3 separate regions of the Homo sapiens genome follow, and regions 2 and 3 are each linked to region 1. The links are contacts of gene promoters, found by promoter capture Hi-C in human tissues and cell types (Jung and others, 2019). All regions are on one chromosome and are shown on one strand. Each heading gives the region's core, a stretch centred on a gene start or on the middle of the fragment in contact. The rest is flanking DNA. Distances are from core to core; before and after follow the strand shown. Region 1 holds the start of CLEC19A (C-type lectin domain containing 19A). Region 2 overlaps SYT17 (synaptotagmin 17). Region 3 overlaps LINC02858 (long intergenic non-protein coding RNA 2858).

Region 1 (3,760 bases), core at 159-2,658:
TGATGAATACACTCAGAGAGTTTAGGACAGAACTGAAACCCCTTGCCCAAATGAGCTAAGACTATCCCTTATTGTTACCACTAGGGATGCTAGATTAACAAAAAAAAAAAAAAAAAAGAAGGATACCTAGTTAAATTTGATTTCAGGTAAACAAACAGATAATTTTTAGTATAAATACGTCCCATGTAATATTTGGGGCATGCTTACACTAAGAAATAATTTATTAATATTTATTTATTGGTATTTTATCTGACAACCCTATCAACCCTCTGTTTAAAGTCACTCTAACACTATCACAACCCAATAATTTGGCCTTATGAGAATCTCCATCTAGGTATTTCATTATTAGTTTTACTTGAACGGGGATTTAAAAATGATATCTCTGCCACTGCTATGATAAATAAATCCATATATGAACATAAACAAGCCTGGAAAGAACCTGGTAGAGGTGACAGTCAAGACTCTTGGCCACCAAATTATAGGATTCAGAACTCTTCTCATCCAGATGAGGGTCCCCCAGAATCAGTAACCCAGCCTTCCTATTGCAAAGTGGAAGAAGTTGAGCTCATTTGAAGACCCTCACCCTCCATATGGGACACTGGGAGGCCACATGCCCAAGGCTGACAGGTTCTCATCCCTGGGGATGCCCCACAAGGCTGGGGGTTGCTGGGCCAGGCCTCCAGGGAGGCCATTAGAGGGACAAGTCTCCCTCCCTGCGCACCTAACCTCTGGTGGCACTGCAGCAGCTCTGAAAGCTCCCTGGGAAGGCTGTCACAGCCAAGGTGGGGTTGGGGCCCAGATGCCAAATCCCTCACAAAACTACCATGTTCAGATCTTCCTGTAGTGCCAGACACTGTGCAAAGCACTTTCCTCATGTTATCTTATCTGCCTTGCACAGTAGCCCAAAGAGAATGCCATTGCGACCCAACTTTCTAGAAGAAGCTGAGGCTCAGAGAGATCAAGAAACTTCCTCTATGTCACACAGCTTGTAAACTGCAAAACTGGGATTCAAACCCAGGACTTTTTGTGTCTGGGCCTAGAAGAGTGCCCATGACAAAGCTGGTAGGGGGAAAGCTGTCAGGAGACTCGGGTCAGGCCACCCCAACCCCCCAACAGAAGCTGCCAGGCCTCACCGATAGAATAAGTTCCTGAGAGTGTACTCCTCTCCACCTGCTCCCAGCCCTGGTCCCTGCACTTACCTGGACTGATACTGATGTCTGTTTGTGGAAAGGCCTGTGCAGAGTGGAGGGTCAGGAAGGCTGCAGCCCACAGTGTCCACCTTTGCATCCTGAGCTCCTAGAAAGCAACCTCCCAGCCTGAGTGGAGGAGAGAGGCTTTTTGGCTGGAGCTTGGGTCCAGGATTGCTCTCCTAGGGTCAGATGGAGCCTGGCAGGAGCTGGGACAGACTGGATGGACTCCAGTCCCCTCCTCTTTTCTTCCTTTTCTCCTCCCTCCTCTTCACACTGTTGGAGACAGCTCAGAATGACAGCTGAAAGCAAAGCAGCCTAGGCCAGCCCCCCTCAAAGAACCAAGAGACATTTTAGCTCCCAAGCTTGCCTCTGAACCAAGACAAAATTTAGCTCTCAGTCTTGTCTCTGAGTCACGCTGTGGCCTTGGGTGTGCACTTCTCTGAGACTCAGTTTCCCCCTCTGTAAAATGGGATGGTAACGAAACTCACATTCCAGCCTGTCACAGGAGACAAAGCATCTCACCTCCCTCAGAGTAGATATGTACTGGAAGGTAAAATTACTGCAAGTAAGCATTGAGCGCAGAGGTCTCCTGGGCCATGGATGTCATTTGTTTGGTCTGCAGAGTTTTAAATTCTAAAAAATTTGTTAAGGTATAAAACCAAGAGATGCTAGGTATAAGTCCGGATTTCTGCCTTCTATTGGAAAATCGGAAGACCTAACGAAACATAGCCCTCATTTCTACAGGGCAACAATTGCATGGAGCTGAGAAAGAGCATCTCTTTCAGCCAGGCTCTTTGAGCTTCGGTTCACCAAGGTCTCCACCCCATGGGTCTGATCCTGACAGCATCCACCGCTGAGGAAGCACCAGGAAGCCTGTGTGAGTCAGCCTCCTTTCCTCTCCCTTCACCTCTCAGGGTCTCTCAGGGTTCCTCCGGGGGTTAAAGGAGGCATCTGTAGAAGATTCAACAGAGTGTTGCACAGAATAAGTGCTCCACAAAGAGGTGCAAGTGTCATCACTAGTGCATAGCTCTACTGTGTGGCTTGCTCAGAATTCAATGTTTAAAAACCCCTAGTGTTTTCATTGGGATCTCATCGCTCTTTTGGAGAATCAATATTTCTAAAAACCACAGTCTTTCTCCCCCACTTTCTGTGTCCTTAGACAAGTCACTTTGCCTCTCTGAACCTCAGTTGCCTCCTCTGTAAAATGGGGGATAAGTAGAGTACCTACCTCACAAGGATTAAATGAAGTAATTTGTTTCTAAAACTTGGCATAGATGCTGGCAAGTAGTAGGTGCTCAATAAATGACAGCAACATTTGCTATTGTTGTCATTGATCTAGTGCAAGGCTTTCCTTGGCATCACCCACATCCCCTGCCCCTGCACTCCCTTATTCCTCTCCAGAAATGCTCTGCCAGGTGCCCTGACACCTCATGTGGCTGGCACTCACAGGGACTGGAATGTGTCTGTTTGGCTTCCAAGTCTTTCTGGAACACCTGCTGCTGTGCTTGTGAGAAATAACTTAACTTGTGCCCACACAGCTTGCCTTGCCTGCTGGCACTGGAGCTGAAAGTCTGCCAAGGTCTGACTCAGAATATGAGCACAGCTCAGGCTCAGCTTCAACCTACAGGATGCCTCCTCGGGTAGATCTGTTGCCTCAAAACTAGTGTACTGGTGCATATCCCAGAGCATGCACACTTACTTATTTATAAATGGGATATATTTATTACATGTTTATAAGTGATGTGCAGGTACGACTCACTGTACTAATATATTATTTCTGTTATAAAACACACACACCCACATTGGACATTATTAAAGGTTGATAAAAGATATAAATGTGGAAGAAAGTTTGGATATTTTCTCCCTACTCCCTATCATCTTGCAAGCTGAAATTTGGGGGCTCCTGCTGTCATGTTCCTGGGTGCTGCTTGGAATTTAAAAGTGTCTATCTTAGTCTGTTTTGTGCTGCTATACTAGAACACCTGAGACTGGTAATTTATAATGAACAGAATTTATTGGTTCACAGTTCTAGAGACAGGGAAGGCCAAGATCAAGGTGTTGGCATCTGGTGAGGGCTTTCTTGCTGAGTCATCATATGGTGGATAGTGAGAGGGTAAAAGAGAGATGAGTCACAGAGAGAGAGAGACAGAGCTTTTTAAAGAGGGGATGAACCCACTCCTGCCATACCTGAGCTACTCTTGTGATAACATCTTTGATCCATGTATGAGGGAAGAGCTCTTATAACCCAGACACCTCTTAAAAGTCCTGTAACCTCATCGGACCAGTCTAGTTCAACTTTTACGTAACAAAGTTGTGAGTTGTTTTTCATTTGCCATGGACCCTCAGATTGAAGGTCATGTAACCTGAGCATGCCCAGATGAACCAAGTGTGCAACCACAGGGGGAACCTAAGTGCTCAGACTGAGGAGCAGGGACTGAATTCAGAAGCAGACACTACATGGCAGGATCCAGAATCCAATCGGATTGAGCTCTGACGTTACCCCATGGCAGGATCCAATCAGGTCATGCCTCCCCACATCATCTCATTGCAAGATCCAATCAGATCATGCC
Region 2 (3,975 bases), core at 1,135-3,634, 34 kb after region 1:
TTGGGGGCCTGGGTGGCACTGGTTTTCAAATGCTCCCCGAGTGAATCTCATGTGCAGTCAGCTTAGATGCAGAATCAAAATATGAGTTGACTGGTGGCTTAGCTGGGTTGTAGAAAGGGGCCCGATCCTACTATTTCCTCTTCTTGATTTAAAACTCTCTGATCATAACTGTGCAGGTTTTGTCCCTGCAAGGTGAAGCCTGTCCAGCAGACTCACTCAGGGAGTTGCAGAGGGTGGTGCCTGTGGTGGGCAGGCAGGTCCCAGAAAGAAGAGGAGAGCAAGAAGACCTTTAACAACTTAGTCCCATCCCACAGAGATTGGGACCTCTACATGCAGTTATTATGTTCTCCATTACGTAAGTCACCTCTTCCCTGAAAAGAACAAATAAAGAATTGAAAGAGGACTGGGTGCGGTGGTTCACCCCTGTAATCCCACCACTTTGGGAGGCCAAGGCAGGTGGATCACCTGAGGTCAGGAGTTTGAGACCAGCCTGGTCAACATGGTGAAACCCCATCTCTACTAAAAATACAAAAAATTAGCCAGGCATGGTGGCAGGCGCCTGTAATCCTAGTTACTCGGGAGGCTGAGACAGGAGAATCTCTTGAACCCAGGAGACAGAGGTTACAGTGAGCCGAGATCGTGCCACTGTACTCCAGCCTGGGCAACAAGAGTGAAACTCCGTCTCAAGAAGAAAAAAAAAGAGAATTGAAAGAGAGTCCAGAGGTGTTACTCTAGGGCCAGGGTAGGCACACTTTTTCTCTTTCTTTTCTTTTTTCTTTTCTTTTCTTAAGAAGCAGGGTCTTGCTCCATTGCCCAGGCTGGAGTGCAGTGACATTATCATAGCTCACTGCAATCTCAAACTCCCAGGCTCAATCTAGAGTTTCCAATCTCTGTGGGATGGGACTAAGTTGTTAAAGGTCTTCTTGCTCTCCTCTTCTTTCTGGGACCTGCCTGCCTCAGCCTCCCAAGGACCTGGGACTACAGGCACACACAACCACACTTAGCTAATTAAAAACTATTTTAAAAAATTTTTTTTTTAATATTCAGGGTCTCACTTTGCTGCCCAGGCTTATCTTGAACTCCTGAGCTCATGCTGTCCTCCCACCTCGGCCTCCCAAAGTCTTGGGATTACAAGCATGAGCCACCATACCAGGCCAACATACTTTTTCTATAAAGGGCCAGAGAGTAAATATTTTAGGCTTTGAGGGCCACCTATGGCCTCTATTGGAAGCATTCAACTTTGCTGCACTAGCAGAAAGCAGCCACAAACAGCATGTTGATGAATGCACATGGCTGTATTCCAATAAAACTTTATTTACAAAATCAGGAAGTGGGCTGTAGTTTGCTGACCTCTGGTCTGTCTAAAGCAGTGGTTCCCGAAGTGTGGTCTCCACACCAGCAGTAGCAGCATCACCTGGAAACCTGTTAGAAATGCGAATTCTCAAGCCCACACAGCTATACTGAATCAGAAACTCTTGGGCAGGGGCTCAGCAGTCTGTTTTAACAAATCTCTGGGTGATTCTGATGCACGCTGGAGTTTAGCAGGACTACACATAACCACCTAGGGAGCTTTTTAGACTATAGTGATGGGGGAGGGGATCTTCCTGGCCAATTGACACAGTCTCTGGAGGTGGCACCCAAACATCCATCCCAGCTTTTTAAAGTTTTCCCAGTGACCCTAATGTGTAGCCGGGTTTGAGATTCACTGGCTTAGGGTAAGTGCCTCATGCAAACATTAAGTTGAGGAATAGAATCCTCTTCAAAACATCCAAAGAAATCAGCCTCATTTCTTTAGAATGATGCTTCATTTCTAATTTTTTTAAGGTGCTGCTGAGCTTAATCTAGATGAACCATTCAGCTTTCCATGACCTCAAGTTATTTAAAAAAAAATATATATATGTATATATATATGTATATATATATGTATATATATATGTATATATATATGTATATATATATGTATATATATATGTATATATGTGTATATATATGTATATATATGTATATATATATGTATATATATATGTATATATATGTATATATATATATGTATATATATGTATATATATATGTGTATATGGCAGCACCGCACTGCAGCCTGGGTGACAGAGTGAGACCCTGTCTCAAAACAAACAAACAAAAACATATGTGTTTCATTTCAAAGGATGAAGAATTCTGCAACATTTATGTTTTCTTTCAATGTGGGGCAGTTTCTTGAGGTCATTTCAAAAAGACGTCTCAAACATGGTTTTTTTGTTTTGTTTTGTTTTGAGACAGTTTTGCTCTGTCGCCCAGGCTGGAGTGCAGTGGCATGATGTCAGCTCACTGCAATTTCCGCCTCCTGGGTTCAAGCAAGCACCTCCAGCTAATTTTTGTATTTTTAGTGGAGACGGGGTTTTGCCATGTTAGGCAGGCTGCTCTCGAACTCCTGACCTCAAATGATCTGCCTGCCTCGGCCTCCCAAAGTGCTGGGATTACAGGTGTGAGCCACTACACTCAGCTCAAACATGTTTTGAACAGCGGTAACATCCCTTAAAGATCAATAGGCCACATGTAGAGACCGTGTGGCCCTGTGTATGCGCAATCCCTTTCCACCCTCACAGCAGTCTAGGAAGAAGGTTGTGAGATGCTCCCACTTTCCAGAGAAATAGATGGAGGCTCAGGGTGTAAGTACAATGAGCAGAATTGTCCAAAAGAGGCTCTAGGAGCTTAGGCGAAACATCTGGACCACGAACTGTCTGGGACCAGCTTTCCTCCCACCCTGGTGGCTTCCTCCCCTGGGAAGAGGAAGCTGTCACTTCCCATGGGCCCTAAGGTCTCTGGTCACTGGTGCTAACCCACCTGCCCCCACTGACAAGGTTGCCTGCTCACGCTTGCGCTATAAAATGGTGGGATGGTGGGCACAAAGTCCTGGCCCTAGAACTCAGACACACACCACAGACCTGCAGCATCTCTCCAAAGGATGGTGGTTACGGAGAGGGAATTCAAGCTTCTTCCTTTCTTGCCAATGCCTGTCCTACAGGCCTTTTCCTTATTCCCCAACAGAGTCTATTCCTTAACCTATACTGTGGGTTAATGTGGCATGTGTCTGGAATCCTTGTGCAAGACAAGGTGTCAAATCCCAGTGACAGGAGGAGGCCCACCTGGGACCCAGCCTGTGGTCCAGTGGTAGAGCGGGATTTGAATTCGGGTCCTGATGACCTTTTATGAGTGAGTTGCAACTCCTAACCTCAGCTCTTGGCATATGCGGCATCCCAAATTATGCTCTGAAAGAAATGCCACCTGTTTTGATGGGCAAATTCTAGCATGTTTTAAAAATCACCCTATTACTAGAATGGATATGTAAATTGTGGTATAGTGACACTCTGAAACACTATTATCCTCAAAATGTGAATAGAAAAATGACATCTACACACAATGACACAAATTTCACGAAGATAATGCTGAATGAAGGAAGGGGTGTGATCCCATTTACATAAAGGTCAAAAAGAGGCAAAATGAATATATGGCAGGAAAGGTCAGGATGATGGCTGCCCTGGGGGAGGGGGAAGTAACTGACATGGGCTATGAGGGAATTTCTGAGAATGTTTCTGGTTCTTAATCTGAGTACTGGTCACATGGGATCGTTAATTTTGTATAAATTCATGAATTGATGCACCTTTCTGTATGTGTGTTGGACTTCAATAAAAAGTCACCTTAAAAAAAGAACTAATGGGGCCACGCATGGTGGTTCACGCCTGTAATCCCAGCACTGTGGGAGGCTGAGGCAAGGTCATGCCTGTAATCCCAACACTATGGGAGGCTGAGGCAAGAGGATCACTTGAGCCCAGGAGTTCGAGACCAGCCCTGGGAACACAGCAAGACCTTTACAAAAAAGATTTAAAATTAGCTGAATGTAGTGGGGTGCCCCTGGAGTCCCAGCTATTTGGGAAGGATTGCTTAAGTCTGGGAGGTCGAGACTGCAGTGAGCCATGA
Region 3 (3,761 bases), core at 1,061-3,560, 53 kb before region 1:
CCCAAAACTGTCCCCTTCCCCTAGACACCAGTTGCAAGTCCAGGCCTCCAGAACTTCTGACCAAACAGCTGTATGTTGGGGTTCCCATGATGCCTTCTTTGGGTTGGATTAATTTTCTGAAGTGGCTCACAGAACTCAGGGAAACACATTTACTGGTTTATTATAAAGAATAGAGATGAAGAGATGTGTAGGGCGAGGTATAGGGGAAGGAGCATGGAGCTTCCATGCCTTCCCTAAGTGAGCCACCTTTCAGGAAACTCCATGTGTTCTGTTATCCAGAAGCTCTCCGAACCCAGTCCTCATGTTTTTATGGAGGCTTGATTACATAGGCATGATTGACAACCATGTAGAAATGTGATTAGACAAAAGTGCATGATCTATACCCAGCAAGGCCTGTCTGCTCAGACTTCTTGGCCCCTCTGTGTAGCATTCCTTCCTCTAGGGTACGGGGCAGGACCCACTCTGGAATGAAGGTCTTTTGACCACAATCAGATTAGAGTCCTACCTTATCAGGTAAAAGGAGGACAGGAGGCCAGGCGCGGTGGCTCACACCTGTAATCCCAGTACTTTGGGAGGCCAAGGCAGGTGGATCATGAGGTCAGAAGATTCAGACCATCCTGGCTAACACGGTGAAACACCATCTCTACTAAAAATACAAAAAATTAGCTGGGCATGGTGGCACACACCTGTAGTCCCAGCTACTCGGGAGGCTGAGGCAGGAGAATCACTTGAACCTGGGAGGCAGAGTTCGTAGTGAGCTGAGATTGCACCACTGCACTCCAGTCTAGGGGACAGAGGAAGACAAAAAAAAAAAGAGGACAGGAGAAGATCAGAGAAAGATTCTGCCTCCTAAAACCTAAAGCACCCAACATTGTAACAAGGACTATGGGAGTTATGACCCAGGAGCTGTGGATGAAAACCAACATATATAAAACTGTAATATCACAGAAGACTAAGGAAGACTAAGGAATTATTTTTTTTTAAAGGTGAGGGCTGAGAGGAGGAGAGATCTGTGTATAGCCTTAGATGGAACTCATCAGGAGTCTTGTCAGTTCAAACCATTTTGTTGTTGGTAGTGGTGTGTCCTCTACTCAAGATTCCAAGTCCCAAGAGTGAGCAACCAACTGTCCTTACTTGGGCCATGTGACCAGGAAAAGACACCATGAAATCCATCTCTAGTTGGGTAAAGAGATTCCCCAGGTCAGGCGTGGTGGCTCACACCAGTAATCCCAGGCCAAGATGGGAGGATCACTTGAGCCCAGGAGTTTGAGCCCAGCCTGGGCAAACGAGCAAGATGCTGTCTTTACAAAAAAATTAAAAAATTAGTCAGGCACAGTGGCACATGCCTGTAGCCCCAGCTACTTGGGAGGCTAAGGCGGGAGGATCACTTGAGCCCAGGAGGTCGAAGCTGCAGTGAACCTTGATCACACCACTGCATTCCAGCCTGGGAAACAGAGTGAGACACTGTCTACAAAAGAAAAAAAGAGAGATTTCCCTAGAGGAAGTCAGAACACCGTACCAGATGAAGGGAGAATTAGAGGTTGTAGGGCCAGCACTACCCAAAGTCCACTAGGAGTAATGGGAAGAGAGCTATTCTAGACGAGGAAAGACAGGAAGAAAGTCACACAAGTTGGAGAGTGAAGGAACATCCAGTTGACCAAGCAAGAGAGGGAGATGAAGCTTGAAAGGTGGGTTGAAGCCAGATTCTAGAGATGTTTGACTACCAGCATGAGAAAATCCCTGTTTTTATCTGGTGGGCCATGGGGAGCTATTGAAGATTTTTGCCTGTTAGGGTAAAGTGATCAGGTCTGATCCAAATATAAAGATTGGTCCAGGCTAGGCATGGTGTCTCATCCTTATAATCCCAACACTTTGAGAGGCCAAAGCAGGAGGATTCTGTGAGGTCAGGAATTCAAGACCAGCCTGGGCAACAGAGCAAGACCCTGTCTCTACAAAAAAATATGCCAGGCATGGTGATGTGTGCCTGTGATTCCAGCTACTCAGGAGGCTGAGATGGGAGGATCATCTGAGCCTGAGAGGTCAAGGCTGCAGTAAGCTATGATTATGCCACTGCACTCCAGCCTGGGTGACAGGAACCCTGTAAAAAAAAAAAAAAAAAAAAAAAGATTGCTCCAAGTTGTGGCATAAGTGTGGGGAAGGCAAGTATCACTCTGGGTCTCAGGGACTCAGATGTCACCAGGCGACTCACTCTTTCTGTCTTCCCAGCCCCTCTCCCTCCTACTGGCTTCTTTCTTCCAGATCCTTATCTTCCTCATGGTAGCTGAGCTCCTCAGTGCAGCTCCTGTCACCTCCTCTCGAGCCACCTGTCTCAGCTTCATCCCCTGCTAAGCACTGAACCTTGTTCCCTTGGATACTAAATTGAAAAATGCAGGAAAGTCCCCTGATTGGCTTAGCTTAGGTCAGGTGACACCTCCAGGCCAATCAATGGGCGTCAAGGGAAAGGCTCTGAAAGAAGGGAGCAGGTCCCTTTTAAGCCATGTGGTTAGTGCAAAGCCAAGGATCATTTCCTGGAGGGAGCCTGCTTGCTGGTTTGTGGAGATAAAGCAGTAGAGGTCTAAGTGTCTACTATTCGCAGGGGCTCCTTGAACACCTACTATGTGCCAATCACTGGGCTAAATGGCTTATCCCATTTTGCCCCTTCAACAACATTTTGAGGTCTTATTATTATCCCCATTTTGCACATGGGCAAACTGAGTCTCAAATAACTTAGAATCACTTGTCTAGGTCAGGTAGCCAGTTTCAATGGCAGAGCAGGGATGCAACCCCAGTCTTTCTGGCACCAGAGCATGAGCTCTTAACCATATTATTCTGCCAAAGATCCAACTTGGGGCCTCATTTTCCCACCCAGGAAGGTATTTGGCAGGGTCACCAGTAGCCATTTTGGTGCCTTTTTTTAAATTAGTAAAACCTCCCCTTCTTCAAGACACTTTACTGCCATCTGCTGAAAATTGCCAAAGTAAGTACAGTACACAAATCTATAATGCAGTGATGTAAACAGTGCCCCTTTAGACTGAGACTCTGGGTCAGTCTAAGGGCCAGTTTTTCACAGTTGGGCAGGTTGTGTACTGTACCAGGGCTAACATGGTGCAGTGCACAACCTGCTCAACTGTGAGCCTTAGCTTTGATACAGGAAGTAGAAGCTGCAGCCAGGAGTTTATTGAATAGCAAAGACTAACACGAATTATCTGGAATCATGAATTCTGTGGCCTCTGGAATAGGGTGATGTTTTGGGATGTCTGGAGCTGATAGGTCTGGGCTGAAAAGGACCAGGTCGATGGAGATGCCAAGCATTTATTTGTTTTGTTTCTTCTCACTCCTATGTCGGGTCTTTGCCTTTTGGTGCTTGGCCACTGGAGTGGGTGGCTCCATAAGATGACTCTTGGATGGTTTCAGGCTCTTCCTGGACACCCAGGACTGGTCCATGAGCTTGGGCTCAGCTGGGAAATCCTCAGGGAGATAGACATCTGTGGCCTCTGAGATTGATAAGGGTAACTGGGGCTCTGGGGCCTGTAGCTGCTCTGGTGGGAGGGGGCAGAGGTCAAGGCAGTAGAAAGATCTAGGCTCAAAAGTGCTGGGCCTAGCCTTCTTGGGGGGCTTCTTGGCCAGATTCCTGAGGGGGTCTTTGGTCTTGTTTAAAGACATCTTGAGTTTTTTGGCCTTGGAAGTCTTGGAGTGCCTGAGAGACTTTTGAGGTTTCTGGGGAAGGCTGGAACACTTTGTCTGGAGTATTCATGCCATAG

The links. Contacts are between HindIII fragments. The study calls those that stand out against the background at their distance.
Region 2: a contact is called between a fragment that was not itself captured here and the fragment with the promoter of CLEC19A in region 1, in 1 of the 25 tissues and cell types used here (H1 embryonic stem cells).
Region 3: a contact is called between a fragment that was not itself captured here and the fragment with the promoter of CLEC19A in region 1, in 1 of the 25 tissues and cell types used here (H1 embryonic stem cells).

Annotation. Positions count from the first base shown.
Region 1 is chr16:19,283,379-19,287,138 of GRCh38, reverse strand. It overlaps CLEC19A (C-type lectin domain containing 19A), which reads right to left and starts at 1,408. Exons shown (of 5, transcript NM_001256720.2): 1 at 1,200-1,408. The coding sequence starts at 1,287. The HindIII fragment of the contact is 9,003 bases long and covers 1-2,706 here.
Region 2 is chr16:19,250,455-19,254,429 of GRCh38, reverse strand. All of the region lies in intron 7 of SYT17 (synaptotagmin 17), which reads right to left. Among named protein-coding and RNA genes, the nearest start is that of CLEC19A, 33 kb to the left of the region's middle. The HindIII fragment of the contact is 4,591 bases long and covers 89-3,975 here.
Region 3 is chr16:19,337,201-19,340,961 of GRCh38, reverse strand. LINC02858 (long intergenic non-protein coding RNA 2858) reads right to left here. Exons shown (of 3, transcript XR_950883.3): 3 at 3,163-3,761. Among named protein-coding and RNA genes, the nearest start is that of LINC02858, 4.9 kb to the right of the region's middle. The HindIII fragment of the contact is 5,111 bases long and covers 1-3,761 here.